2 separate regions of the Homo sapiens genome follow, and region 1 is linked to region 2. The links are contacts of gene promoters, found by promoter capture Hi-C in human tissues and cell types (Jung and others, 2019). All regions are on one chromosome and are shown on one strand. Each heading gives the region's core, a stretch centred on a gene start or on the middle of the fragment in contact. The rest is flanking DNA. Distances are from core to core; before and after follow the strand shown.

Evidence for each region. The method cuts DNA at HindIII sites, captures the fragments that hold promoters and counts their contacts. A contact is called where the count stands out against the background at its distance.
Region 1: a fragment that was not itself captured here is called in contact with the fragment with the promoter of TTLL6 in region 2 in 1 of the 25 tissues and cell types used here (mesendoderm cells).

What each region holds. Positions count from the first base shown.
Region 1 is chr17:48,846,131-48,852,619 of GRCh38, forward strand. CALCOCO2 (calcium binding and coiled-coil domain 2) reads left to right here. Exons shown (of 13, transcript NM_005831.5): 3 at 1,934-2,036; 4 at 2,192-2,325; 5 at 3,122-3,247; 6 at 4,959-5,047; 7 at 5,429-5,498; 8 at 6,376-6,489. Among named protein-coding and RNA genes, the nearest start is that of CALCOCO2, 18 kb to the left of the region's middle. The HindIII fragment of the contact is 6,665 bases long and covers 1,908-6,489 here.
Region 2 is chr17:48,813,888-48,820,005 of GRCh38, forward strand. TTLL6 (tubulin tyrosine ligase like 6) reads right to left here and starts at 3,342. Exons shown (of 16, transcript NM_001130918.3): 1 at 3,083-3,342. The coding sequence starts at 3,185. It overlaps LOC105371813 (a long non-coding RNA gene), which reads left to right. Exons shown (of 4, transcript XR_001752926.1): 3 at 1,952-2,105; 4 at 2,542-3,071. RefSeq lists silencers at 3,048-3,097, 3,188-3,537. The HindIII fragment of the contact is 9,954 bases long and covers 798-6,118 here.

The DNA of each region.
Region 1 (6,489 bases), core at 3,990-6,489, 34 kb after region 2:
ATTTTTTAAAATTTATTTTATTTTGAGACAGAGTCTTGCTCTGTCACCCAGGCTGGAGTGCAGAGGTGCAATCTGGGCTCACTGCAACCTCTGCCTCCTGGGTTCCAGTGATTCTCGTGTCTCAGCCACTGAGTAACTGGGATTATAGGCATGCACCACTGTGCCCAGTCAGTAAATATTTTTAATACATACAAATATGTTACATCTTCTCTATAGTGAAAGCCACCACCAATGATGGAGCCTAAAGCAGGAAGCAGTCTGCTTTCCTTCCCTCAGTGTATAATCCTATGCTTCATACTCTCCTTGACTTAGGCATTTAAATGTTTCCAAGACAAATTGGAACAAGAACTACTCAAATGGAGGAGCCAAGGACAGAAATTGCAGGTGGCTAGAAGTTGTTTCCCTGTTCCAAGGCAGCAATAATTCTTAGGCCTTCCCAATGATATTTTGGTCACAGTGCATTAAGAAACTCCAGGATGTGAATGAGGACTCCATAAAATTCCTGCTTCCTGTACCACCGCAGGCTGCAGTGGCTCTGAGATGCTTACAGCAATGGGGTGTGTATTAATGAGACTCTAAAACATGCCCTAGGATGTTCTGATGAGTTTTTGGTATAGACTTTTCAACCCTGCTTTGATTCCTTAATATATAAAAATGGAATTTATTTTTAGTTCTCTTCTTACTGAGCTCAGACAGGGTCAAAATATGGCAATAAATGTAATTTTGCTTCTCATTTGCTGAGTGTTGTCCCCTTGAAGACACAATAGCTTCCTTTCTATTCTCTGGTGTGCTTTTATTTTCTAGATAAGATTTGAGCAATCTTTTACCCCCTTCACATTTGTGAGAATATTTTCCACTTAGCCAGCTTTCTGCTCTGAGGCGTGTTTTGCTGCATCCTTATGTCTTATGATTTATTGTATTCAATACCTAGAAGAGGCCTTTACGACTACCAGATTGTTGTTAATATCTTTATTACCAAAAAGCCATCATTAAGCATGCATGAAGAAAAAAAATTATATAGACCTGGAATCTCTTATCTGGTGCCTCATAATCTAAGAACCCTGTTCTCCCTCTGCCCCCAACACAGACATTATGAAAAATAATGGGTTTTTTTTTAATGCAGTAGTATATCCAGGTTGGTATATGACAAGGCTTAATTGGACACAATAGAGGACACACCAATAGAGAGGGCAGGTCAGAAGTGATTTCTGATTTAGAAGTCCAAAGAATGCCATTGTAAGAGGATCAGGGTTCATATTCCCGCAACTTTCCCCTTAAATCAGTCTCAGCTCTATCTCTGACTTGTAGATAGAATTTTTGGAGCTTTTTTCCTGGGTGGTGAGGAGCTAGTTTTCAAATCCTTCTAAGACTTGTATTTTGAGCTGTGTATGTGCACCCCAATTTTTGGTTGTATCAGACATTTTCCCATATGTATTTGTCATAAGTGAAAAATAAAATAAAAAATTAAAAAAGGTTTGAGCCCTGGCGTGAGAATCTTGTCATAATGAACTCATTCTATTATATTTTCTTTTTTCTTTTTTTGGAGACGGAGTCTCACTCTGTCACCCAGGCTGGAGTGCAGTGGTGCAATCTCGGCTCACTGCAACCTCCGCCTCCTGGGTTCAAGCAATTCTCCTGCCTCAACCTCCTGAGTAGCTGGGATTACAGGCGCACACCACCGTGCCAACTTATTTTTTGTATTTTAATGGAGACGGGTTTTCACCATGTTGCCCAGGCTGGTCTCAAACTACTGAGCTCAGGCAATCCACCCACCTTGGCCTCCCAAAGTGCTAGGATTACAGGCATGAGCCACTGCACCCGGCCTATATTTTCAATATATACAAATAAAAAGTGATTTTAAGAAGATGTAGCCCAATTAGGATTTTCCCCAGTCCCCTTTCAGGTACTAAATAAGAACTTCTTGTCATTGCAGGTGGGGTGGAAGACAACCCGTGAGTATTACACCTTCATGTGGGTTACTTTGCCCATTGACCTAAACAACAAATCAGCTAAACAGCAGGAAGTCCAATTCAAAGGTGAGAAAAATACTGGATCAAAGGTGTTGAAGACAGTAGCCAAGACTAATTAATTCCCTTCAGCTTGAGCTTTCTGGGGCAGATAAAAAGATTTCCAGAATTTTACTTTTCTGAATAGATCTTATTTTGGATGAAAAATTATGTTGTGTTTTCAGCTTACTACCTGCCCAAGGATGATGAGTATTACCAGTTCTGCTATGTGGATGAGGATGGTGTGGTCCGGGGAGCAAGTATTCCTTTCCAATTCCGTCCAGAAAATGAGGAAGACATCCTGGTTGTTACCACTCAGGTTTGTAAAACTTCTCACCTCAATCCCTTACTGCCATTACGGGTAGCAATATAGGATAGGATGGAATTTGAGTTAATAAGGCTTTATTGAATATCTAACGGGTATCATTGGAAAAAATGTATGTAGTACTCACACAGACTCACTCAGGAATGACTTCGGAATGTTAACAAGACTCATAACAATAAGTGGTTTCTTCTTTTCTAAAACTTCTTTAACTCAGCTGGCATTCAGTTATTCTTTTAACTTTCCAATTGCTTAATTTTTGTCATCTACACATCTTATCACAATGGTAAATGTAAAAGCTCCTTTGAGGAGAGAAGCACCAAATATTCTTATCTCTTTCAGTTCTGGCCTACAGCCTGTCTGTCATACGTGAGTATTAGATTCATTTTCTTACTTCATCATTTAACAGGACACCTACTTTTCATCCAGCACTATGGTAGGCACTGGGAACACAATGAAGAATCAGTTAAAACACTGTCCTTGGCCTCAAGGAGCTAAGTCCATTGGGAGAGACAAACAATACTAAGCGTCTGCAAGAAGAAGCTACATTCTTATATCATTGTTCCTTTTAATTTTAATGGATATAATTTTTGCTTGCCTTTCTTGGTATTGCTGCAATTATAAAGACATACCTCTGTTATACCCTTACCTAGGTATTAAGGAGCAGCCCCCATCTGGGATACATAGGTGTCACTGCAGTGAATGGGAATCAGCCAGTCCCTCACCATCCTAACCTATGGGAATTTTCTGCTAGAGGGACTTGGAATATAGTTTATGGAATGTTCTTTTGTAGGGAGAGGTGGAAGAGATTGAGCAGCACAACAAGGAGCTTTGCAAAGAAAACCAGGAGCTGAAGGACAGCTGTATCAGCCTCCAGAAGCAGAACTCAGACATGCAGGCTGAGCTCCAAAAGAAGCAGGTATGGCTGCTGGTTATAGGTGACCTTGGAGCATGGAGATCAGAATTGGATGGTGCCTCTTATCCAGCACCATATTCTGTTTTGCCTGTGATCTCACCTTCTTATACCAGTATCTTTGAACAGGCATTAGTTTTGTTTGTTTGTTTGAAATGGAGTCTCACTGTGTCACCCAGGCTGGAGTGCAAGGGTGCGATCCTGGCTCACTGCAACCCCCATCTCCCAGGTTCAAGCGATTCTCCTGCCTCAGCCTCCCGAGTAGCTGGGATTACAGGTGATCACCACCACACCCAGCCAATTTTTATATTTTTTAGAGACAGGGTTTTACCATGTTGGCCAGGCTGGTCTCGCACTCCTGGCCTCAGGTGATCCACTCGCCTGAGCTTCCCAAAGTGCTGGGATTATAGGCATGAGCCACCGTCCCTGTCTGAATATCTCCTTTTAATTGTTCATATGTTGAAATGATATTTTAGGTACATTCGGTTAAATATACTATCATTTGGCCAGGTGCAGTGGCTCACACCTGTAATACCAGCACTTTGGGAGGCCAAGATGGGTGGATCACTTGAGGTCAGGAGTTCGAGACCAGCCTGGCCAATATGACAAAACCCCGTCTCTACTAAAAATACAAAAATTAGCCAGGAGACCGGGCGTGGTGGCTCATGCCTGTAATCTCAGCACTTTGGGAGGCCGAGGCAGGTGGATCACAAGGTCAGGAGTTTGAGACCAGCCTGGCCAAGATGGTGAAACCCCGTCTCTACTAAAAATACAAAAATTAGCCAAGCATGGTGGTAGGCACCTGTAATCCAAGCTACTCAGGAGGCTGAGGCAGGAGAATTGCTTGAACCTGGGAGGCAGAGGTTGCAGTGAGCCAAGATCACACCCCTGCACTCTAGCCTGGGCAACAGAGCAAGACTCTGTCTCAAAAAAAAATTAGCCAGGCATGGTGGCATGCGCCTGTAATCCCGGCTACTCAGGAGGCTGAGGCAAGATAATTGCTTGAACCCGGGAGGCAGAGATTGCAGTGAGCCAAGATCACGCCACTGCACTCCAGCCTGAGCAACAGAGCAAGACTTTATCTCAAAAAAAATTAAAAACAAAAAATATATATATATGCATACACATAGTATTATTAAAATTAGTCTGTTTCTTTTTACCTTTTTAAAAATGTGCCTCCTAAGATTTTAAAATTATATGTAGCTCTCACTTATTGAACAGCGCTGTTCTAGGAAAAGGGCAGTTCTGTCTATTTTGTCCACTGTTGTGTCTGCAATGCAAGAACAGTGTCTAGTGTGGAATAGGCTCTCAGTAAATATTTGTTTAATGAACAAATTATAAGCTCCAGTGGAATGAGAAATTAAGGTGATGCATTTTTAATATAAAAAGAGCATTTTGTGACCAGGCGCAGTGGCTCATGCCTGTAATCCCAGCACTTTGGGAGGCTGAGGCACAACAATTGCGTGAACCCGGGCGACAGAGGTTGCAGTGAGCCAAGACTGCGCCACTGCACTCCAGCCTGGGCAATAGAGTGAGACACTGTCTTAAAAAAAAAAAAAAAAGAACATTTTCCTTTTATTTGAGTATTTCATTTACTGCTGTGTCATGCTATGCCTGACATATAGTAAGTGCTCAATAAATATTTGTTGCCTGCCTAAGATACTCATTCAAAAGTCATAGAACTAGTCTGTCCCTTTGATGTTGTTTCAATCTATAGGAGGAGCTAGAAACCCTACAGAGCATCAATAAGAAGTTGGAACTGAAAGTGAAAGAACAGAAGGACTATTGGGAGACAGAGCTGCTTCAGTGAGTGCATCCCATAATTCTGGGAGGGGAAGAGCTGCTGTACCATCAGTACCCTTAAGTACAGTCAGATTAGATTTCTGGAATTTGTGAGAAAACACTGTTATGACATTGATGATGTGATTCTCCACCCTTTGAATCATGAATTAGAAAATTGGTATCAGAATAGTCAGGAAAAATGATCTGATTTCAAATATTAACTTTAGGGATTGAATACTTGCAGTTTTTTGGAGTCAGGAAGCCAAAACAGGACTGCAATGGAGACTAGTAGATTTTTAAATAATTCTGCAGGCTTAGGGCCAAGCCAGCCTTAAATCACTTAAGGCCAGGGGTAGCTGACCTGGAATCAGTGAATTTTTCACATAGTTATCTCCACCTCTACAGACTGAAAGAACAAAACCAGAAGATGTCCTCAGAAAATGAGAAGATGGGAATCAGAGTGGATCAGCTTCAGGTAGGTAATGCCATATGTTTGTCAAAGGATATTTTCTTAGCCTTACCACTGCTCCAATTTGGTGGCCTAGAAAGATGTATTTCATTGCAGTGAGTGCCTAATGGCATACTTTTCAAAGTATCACACTAAAGTTTCAGGTTATGTATTTTCCATTCTTGGACCAGGTAAGCCTCCACCCTACCCATGCCCCTGCTTTTAAAAAAAAAAAAATCATGATTCACAGCCGGGCGCAGTGGCTCATGTCTGTAATCCCAGCACTTTGGGAGGCCAAGGCAGGTGGATCACCTGAGGTCAGGAGTTCGAGATCAGCCTGGCCAATATGGCAAAACCCCGTCTCTACTAAAAATACAAAAATTAGCTGGGCGTGCTAATTTACAGGCGCACGTGTAATTCCAGCTACTCGGGAGGCTGAGGCAGAAGAATCACTTGAGCCCCGGAGGCAAAGGTTGCAGTGAATAGAGATTGCACCACTGCACTCCAGCCTGGGTGACAGAGCAAGACTCTGTCTCAAGAGAAAAAAAAAAAAAAATCATGATTCACAAGGAACTTAGTGATTTGTTCATGTATTACTAAGGTAGTTTACCATGAGCTCTTAATATAGATGACAATCATCTATATCAATAATCAAACTTTAATCTTTTCAAGCAAAATCGTACTCAAAAGTCTGGAATATAGAGCAGATAGCAGAACTGCTCTCATTTTTAGGAAGCTATGCCTTAAAGAGGTGCTTTAAAGAGTGATTTGTCTAATTTTACTCAGTTGGCAGTTGGGAGTTGCTAGGGAAACACATCTCTTTGTTATTGTACGTTAAAAAGCATTGTTCCTGTTTTGTTTTCCTTCTTTTATATCTTGGTTATGTTCACTATTTTTGTTTTAGGCCCAGCTGTCAACTCAAGAGAAAGAAATGGAGAAGCTTGTTCAGGGAGATCAAGATAAGACAGAGCAGTTAGAGCAGCTGAAAAAGGAAAATGACCACCTCTTTCTCAGTTTA
Region 2 (6,118 bases), core at 2,092-4,591:
GGGAGGGGACTTGTACCCAGCCAGAGAGCAAGAAATCAGAAGCACCATCAAAACCCCAGCTTCCTGGTCCCCAAGTTATCTTCCCATTATGCTGGGTTAGTGGACAGACAAAGTGGACTAAGTGCTTTAGAGAGTTTTTAAAAGACTAAGGCTGGGTGCGGTGGCTCACGCCTGTAATTCCAGCACTTTGGGAGGCCAAGGCAGGTGGGTTACTTGAGGTCAGGAGTTGGAGACCAAGTTGGCAAACATGGTGAAACCCCGTCTCTACTAAAAATACAAAAATTAGCTGGGCATGGTGGCAGGCGCCTGTAATCCCAGCTACTCGGTAGGCTGGGGCAGGAGAATCGCTTGAACCTGGGAGGCGGACGTTGCAGTGAGCCCAGATCGCACCACTGCCCTCCAGTCTGGGTGACAGAGGGAGACAGTGTCTCAAAAAAAAAAAAAAAAAAAAAAAGACTAAGAGCTGTACTACCAATGTAACAAACACAGTAAATAGCAAAATAGCATCTTCAGTTTTTCTTAATGACACAAGAAAGAGCATTGTGTCATTAAGGAAGGGTATTAGTCCACCTTTCCAAGTAGGATATAGTTAAGACACTGAAAAAATTCTCATGTTTCCTTCCATTTTAGTATAGGGTTTGATCTTGAGATCTTCCAAGCCAGAGGCTGTCAACAAGATCCTGGTTAGACAGCACGAAAATGTCCTACATTGGCCACCAGGGGGAGGGAATGAGCACTGGGACGGGTCCACTGGGACGGGTCCATTGCGGGTTATTTGGAAAAAACTCAGAGGAGGGTCCCTGTCTTATTTCCACTTCTGAAGGACTATACCTGTTGACTACTCTCCTCTTCCCTGGAGGTGTTGCAGAGGGTGGAAAATGTTTAGTGCTTTCTTTTATCTTTCTTTCTTTCTTTCAAACTCCAGCCTGTTGCCCAGGCTGGAGTGCAATGGCACGATCTCAGCTCACCGCAACCTCTGCCTCCTGGATTCAAGTGATTCTCCCGCCTTAGCTTCCCGGGAGCTGGGACTACAGGCATGCACCACCACGCCTGGCTAATTTTGTATTTTTAGTAGAGATGGGGTTTCTCCATGTTGGTCAGGCTGGTCTCAAACTCCCAACCTCAGGTTATCAGCCCACCTCAGCCTCCCAAAGTGCTGGGATTACAAGCATGAGCCACCGCGCCCAGCAGTTTAGTGATTTCTTTTGCAAAACTGAATGAACACGGGCATCCTATAAATGATAGAAAACAATAATTTGGTGGTTGACTAAGAGAACCCTGGGAGAACATATTTCAAGTTGTAGCCAAGTTTTTTCATCTCTGACCTTCATCACCTGGACTTTTTTTCTAGTCTATAGGAATATATAGAGCACTGAAAGTTTCGCCTATTGTGTCTGTCTGTGAAGTCCCTCTCTTTCACCAGATAATAGGTTTTCCTTCACGTACCTCCTTTTCATCTTTTGGTCCTCATTTCCCTACTGGAAGCATCCCTCTGAAGGCCTCCAGTGGTTCTTGGAAAATGTCAAATTGGATGGGGGAAGAAAAGATGTGGAGGTAAGACCTCTGGATCTTGCTTTCAGCTTTGCCCCTCCAACTCAGTATGTCATAAAAATCCAAGCAATTATTTCCTCTCCCACTCCCTATCTTCTCTATAATTACAGGACCACTAGGAGGATAAAAGCTTCACATCTAGAAAAGTGCTTTGAGCTTTGATTCAGACAGGATAAAATAAGATGTTTTTTGTGGTCTTTTGACTTTTCGTTTTAGTCACACTTTGAATTTCAGCCCGGGGCCTGAAAGGGTCCTAAGCAAAATGTGAACTAACAAGGGAGGGATGGGGCACCCAATTGCTCAAGGGCTTTGCCAATAAGAAGTGTTGAGAATGACAAGTCACCTGTAGTGGGAACAATAAGAATCTTGCTGACTTAGATGCCATCTTTTATTCTTCTAGAAACTGAGAAATTCTGCAAGATTGGAAGATGCAATATTCAGATCAGGCTCATGCCTAGTCATTTTCTCCACAATATTCAGGGCATTGCTAACAAAGACAGATGGATCTGGATCCAAATCCCAGCTCTACTAGTTTCTAGAATGTGTGACCATGGGTGAGTAACTTAGCCTCTCTGTACCTCAGCTTCTGTATAAGTAAAATGGGGATGATAATAATATTCATTTTATGGAGCTGTTTTAAAGATTAAATGAGTTAATATTTCTAATACCCTTAAAGCAGTGCTTGGTTCAAAATAAAGGCTATATTGTAAAATGAAAATATAAACCAGGCGTGGTGACTCATGCCTGTAATTCCAGCACTTTGGGAAGCCCAAGTGGGAGGATCACTTGAGCTCAGGAGTTCGAGACCAGCCTGGGCAAAAAAGTGAGCCCCCCCACCCCCACCTCCATCTCTTAAAACAAACAAAAAAGAAAATATAATAATAAGATTGGCATAAATATTAAATTTTTTTGGAGTGCCTCGCACATACTGGTGCTTTCAAAACGTTAGCTCCCTTCCCACTTCATCCCCCAATGTGATATTTTTCCTAGAGTTCAAATCCCAAAGGAGAACTTTCTGCAAAGCCAGAAGAGTATTTTTTCAGGAGGGGTGAGAAATAACAACTGGAAATGAAAGAACACCAGGCTGGAAGGCGGTAGGGGCATCAGCAGAGGACTATGCCGGCCATGAAAAATGGGAAGTGTCTTGCTGGAAGGTTTCTCCAGACAAAGGAAGAACAGTGATGAAGAAAATGACCCAATGATGGGGATGAAGGGGATGAAGAGAGTTGTGTGAGTCCCAGGGATCGCTGGTGTCTAAGCGACAGCTCCTTGGTGGACTGTGGTTTAGGAAATCGGGGGAGGGCGGGAAATGAACGTTAATAAGAGGGACTGAGAAGGGGGGAGTCCCGGAGCCGAGGGACCGTGAGGGTGAGTGCCTGGCGCCATGGAACGCCACCAGGGAGGGCAGCGGGCTACCCTGGGGACCTGGGTCCCGTGTGGGTTTAAGGAGACGTGTCTAGCCAGGTTTTCAGGGGACAGGCACCAGGAGGCTGCGGTCTGGAGCCAGCACCGGGCTTTGGGGCGCTCTTACCCGCAATTCCTACTCCCCCGTCTCGCCCCGCTGGGCTGCTAGTCCAGCTTGCAACCACACCTGCCGGCCCCCTCCTCGAAGGATGAAGGAGTAACGCTCCCATTGGCTGCCAGACAGCCCCAACCCCAACCCGCGCTCGCCCTAACTTTGGGTCCGCCCGGCCCTCATATTTGCATACGGGGCCTTCTAGGCCTTCGATTGGCCCCTGCAGTAGCTGCCATGCCCCCTCCCTCCCGAATCCAATTAACCGCCCAGGCGCTAGGGGAGGGGCGCGCCCACGGTTGTCCCGGGAGACGCGGAGGACGCGCGCACCGCGCACCCGGGCGCCAGGGGCTGGACCGCCGCTCGCTCCCGCAGCCCTACCCTTGCCCAGCGAGCCAAGCCGCAGTCCCAGCCCATCCGCGCCGGTGCCGTCGGGCGCCGTGCGCGGGCGCGGCCAGAACGTCTGGCTCCAGAGGTCCAGCTGCGCGGGGCTGCGGTGAGGGAGGGGGGCACCTTGAATTTAGGCCTTCGGGAGAGGGCAAACCTGAAGCAGGAGGCACTGTGGGAAAACACTGGTTGGAGACTTAAATCAGCATCTCAGGCATATTAGTGCCTGTGTCACCTTGGGCAGGCCACGTTACCTCTGTGAGGCTTAGCTTCTTCAACAGGAAAATGGGTGTTGCAAACCTGTGATGACCGCTCAGGCGTATTGAACCCTGACCTCACCTCCAGAGTGTGGGGGTCATGGCCTCCAGTGAACTGATCAGTAAGAGAGGGCCGCCTAGACCGACTGAAGAGTCAGTGAGACTTAAGGGGTTAGGGGTCTGGGCTTCTCAGAGCAACCATTTGGTCTCAGGTGGAGAATCTGTAGTAGTGACTGGATTCAAATCATTGAAGATGGTCGGGCGCGGTGGCTCACGCCTGTAATCCCAGCACTTTGGGAGGCCTAGGTGGGTGGATCGCTTGAGCTCAGAAGTTCAACACCAGCTGGACAACATGGCGAAACCTCCTCTCTACTAAAAATACAAAAATTAACCGAGCGCGGTGCGCGTACCTGTGGTCCCAGCTATCGGGAGGCTGAGGCGGGAGGATCGCTTGAACACAGGAGGCAGAGGTTGCATTAAGCTGAGATCGCGCCACTGCACTCCAGCCTGGGCAACAGAGGGAAACTCTGTCTCAAATAAATAAATAAACATTGTTCATTTGGGCCTGAGTTGGTAACCTAAGTTCCTCCCAACCCAGATCCCCTTCACCTGCTGATGTGCACAGGCAGAACACCAGAGGCAAGGGTGTAGCTTAGCCTCAAGCCGACCCTGGAAGCCTACTACGTGGTGCTTACAGTCACCCCGGAGTGAACAGAAGGCCCAAAGTGGAACCAGTGGCCCATCTGCTGCTCTTTCAGAAACCTCTCTGCCATCCAGTCAGCACTCTTCCCTTTTCCCCCCGCAGGTGGCCCCGTGCTGTGGTGCCCCTCCCCGACAGGCCCTAAGGGGCCAAGTGACCATCATTAACTGGTCACCCAGCAGATGCTTCCCTAAGACCAACTGTCCCAGCCTGGTCCCCTCCCCCATCCCACTGTTGTCTTTCCCCAGCGTCCTACCAATCTGCTCTGCCTAGCTCCTGTTTGGTCTCCGGTCCCTCAGGAGTGATATTGTGATGGAAATGAGGGAGAGGATACAGGAGAGAGCAGCAAAGATTTACGGCTTTCAGAGAGTTTCCACTAAAATCCCTGACAACTGGTTATTTATGAGATGTTGCAACGGGAGCTTATAGGCCAGAGCCTGGCACTACTGTCCTTTCAGGGCTGATGTCAGGAGCAAACACAGGGTGAACACGGTGAACAGTGGAGCTGCCCTCACTGTAGAGCAAAGCAAGCTTCAACCCGAGTGACAGCCAGGAAAGCAGAGAATATCAGTGATTTGTGCCTGGCAAACCCTAAACAGACAAATCCACAAGGTAAACACTGAGGGACTTACTCGGCCTGGGCATGAAAAACTGAAGCAGAATGATGGAGGGTCCTAATTGTCAAAAAATTTGGACCATGTCCTAGAAGCTGTCAGAGGCAAGAGTGTGTGGAAAAATCCAGGTCCAACCCTGTTGTTTTCACTGCTGTTTTGTTCCTAAGGCACCCACCTGACTAAATAGATAAATAGTAAAACAACAGTAAAATCCCCGTAAGGTTGTTTGCTCTGCACTTCACACACAGCGTTTTTTCTCAGTTTGGAGTTCTTCCTTTAAGTAGTTAATGAAACAAACAGAGATCCTGCTTCTGCTCCCTGAACCAAGGTCCCTCCTAGAAGCCCTTTCTTCCTGTGCCAGTCAAAATATATTTTTTTTTTCAGACGGAGTCTTGCTCTGTCGCCCAGGCTGGAGTGCAGTGGCGCGATCTCAGCTCACTGCAATCTCTGCCTCCTGGGTTCAAGCAATTCTCCTGCCTCAGCCTCCCAAGTAGCTGGAATTACAGACACCCGCCACCATGCCCGGCTAATTTTTGTATTTTTAGTAGAGACGGGTTTCACCATGTTGGCCAGGCTGGTCTCAAACTCCTGACCACGTGATCCGCCCACCTCGGCATCCCAAAGTGGTGGGATTACAGGCGTGATCCACTGCACCCGGCCAAAATAATTTTATTTTGTTTTTTTCGAGATGGAGTCTTGCTCTGTCGTCCAGGCTGGAGTACAGTGGCACGGTCATGACTCATTGAAGCCTCAAACTCCTGGGCTCAAGCAACGCTCCTGAGTAGCTAGGATTACAGGCTCCTACCACCATGCCTGACTAATTTTTTAAAAAAACAATTTTGTAGAGACGGGATCTTGTTTTGTTGCCTCTCAAAATGTTGGGATCACAGGTGTTAGCCACCGTGCCCAGCCAAAATAAAGTCTTGATATGTGTACCAGGAATGATGTAAGGAGTGGGAATGAGGCAAGGATGCTTAGATAAAATTTTGCATACCCCAGATTTTTTTTGCTTTAAGTCTGCAATGCATGAGAGAATGTTGTAGAAGTGTATATAATCACAGAATTGGGCTTCTTTTAAATCAGAAGAGTTCTTAGA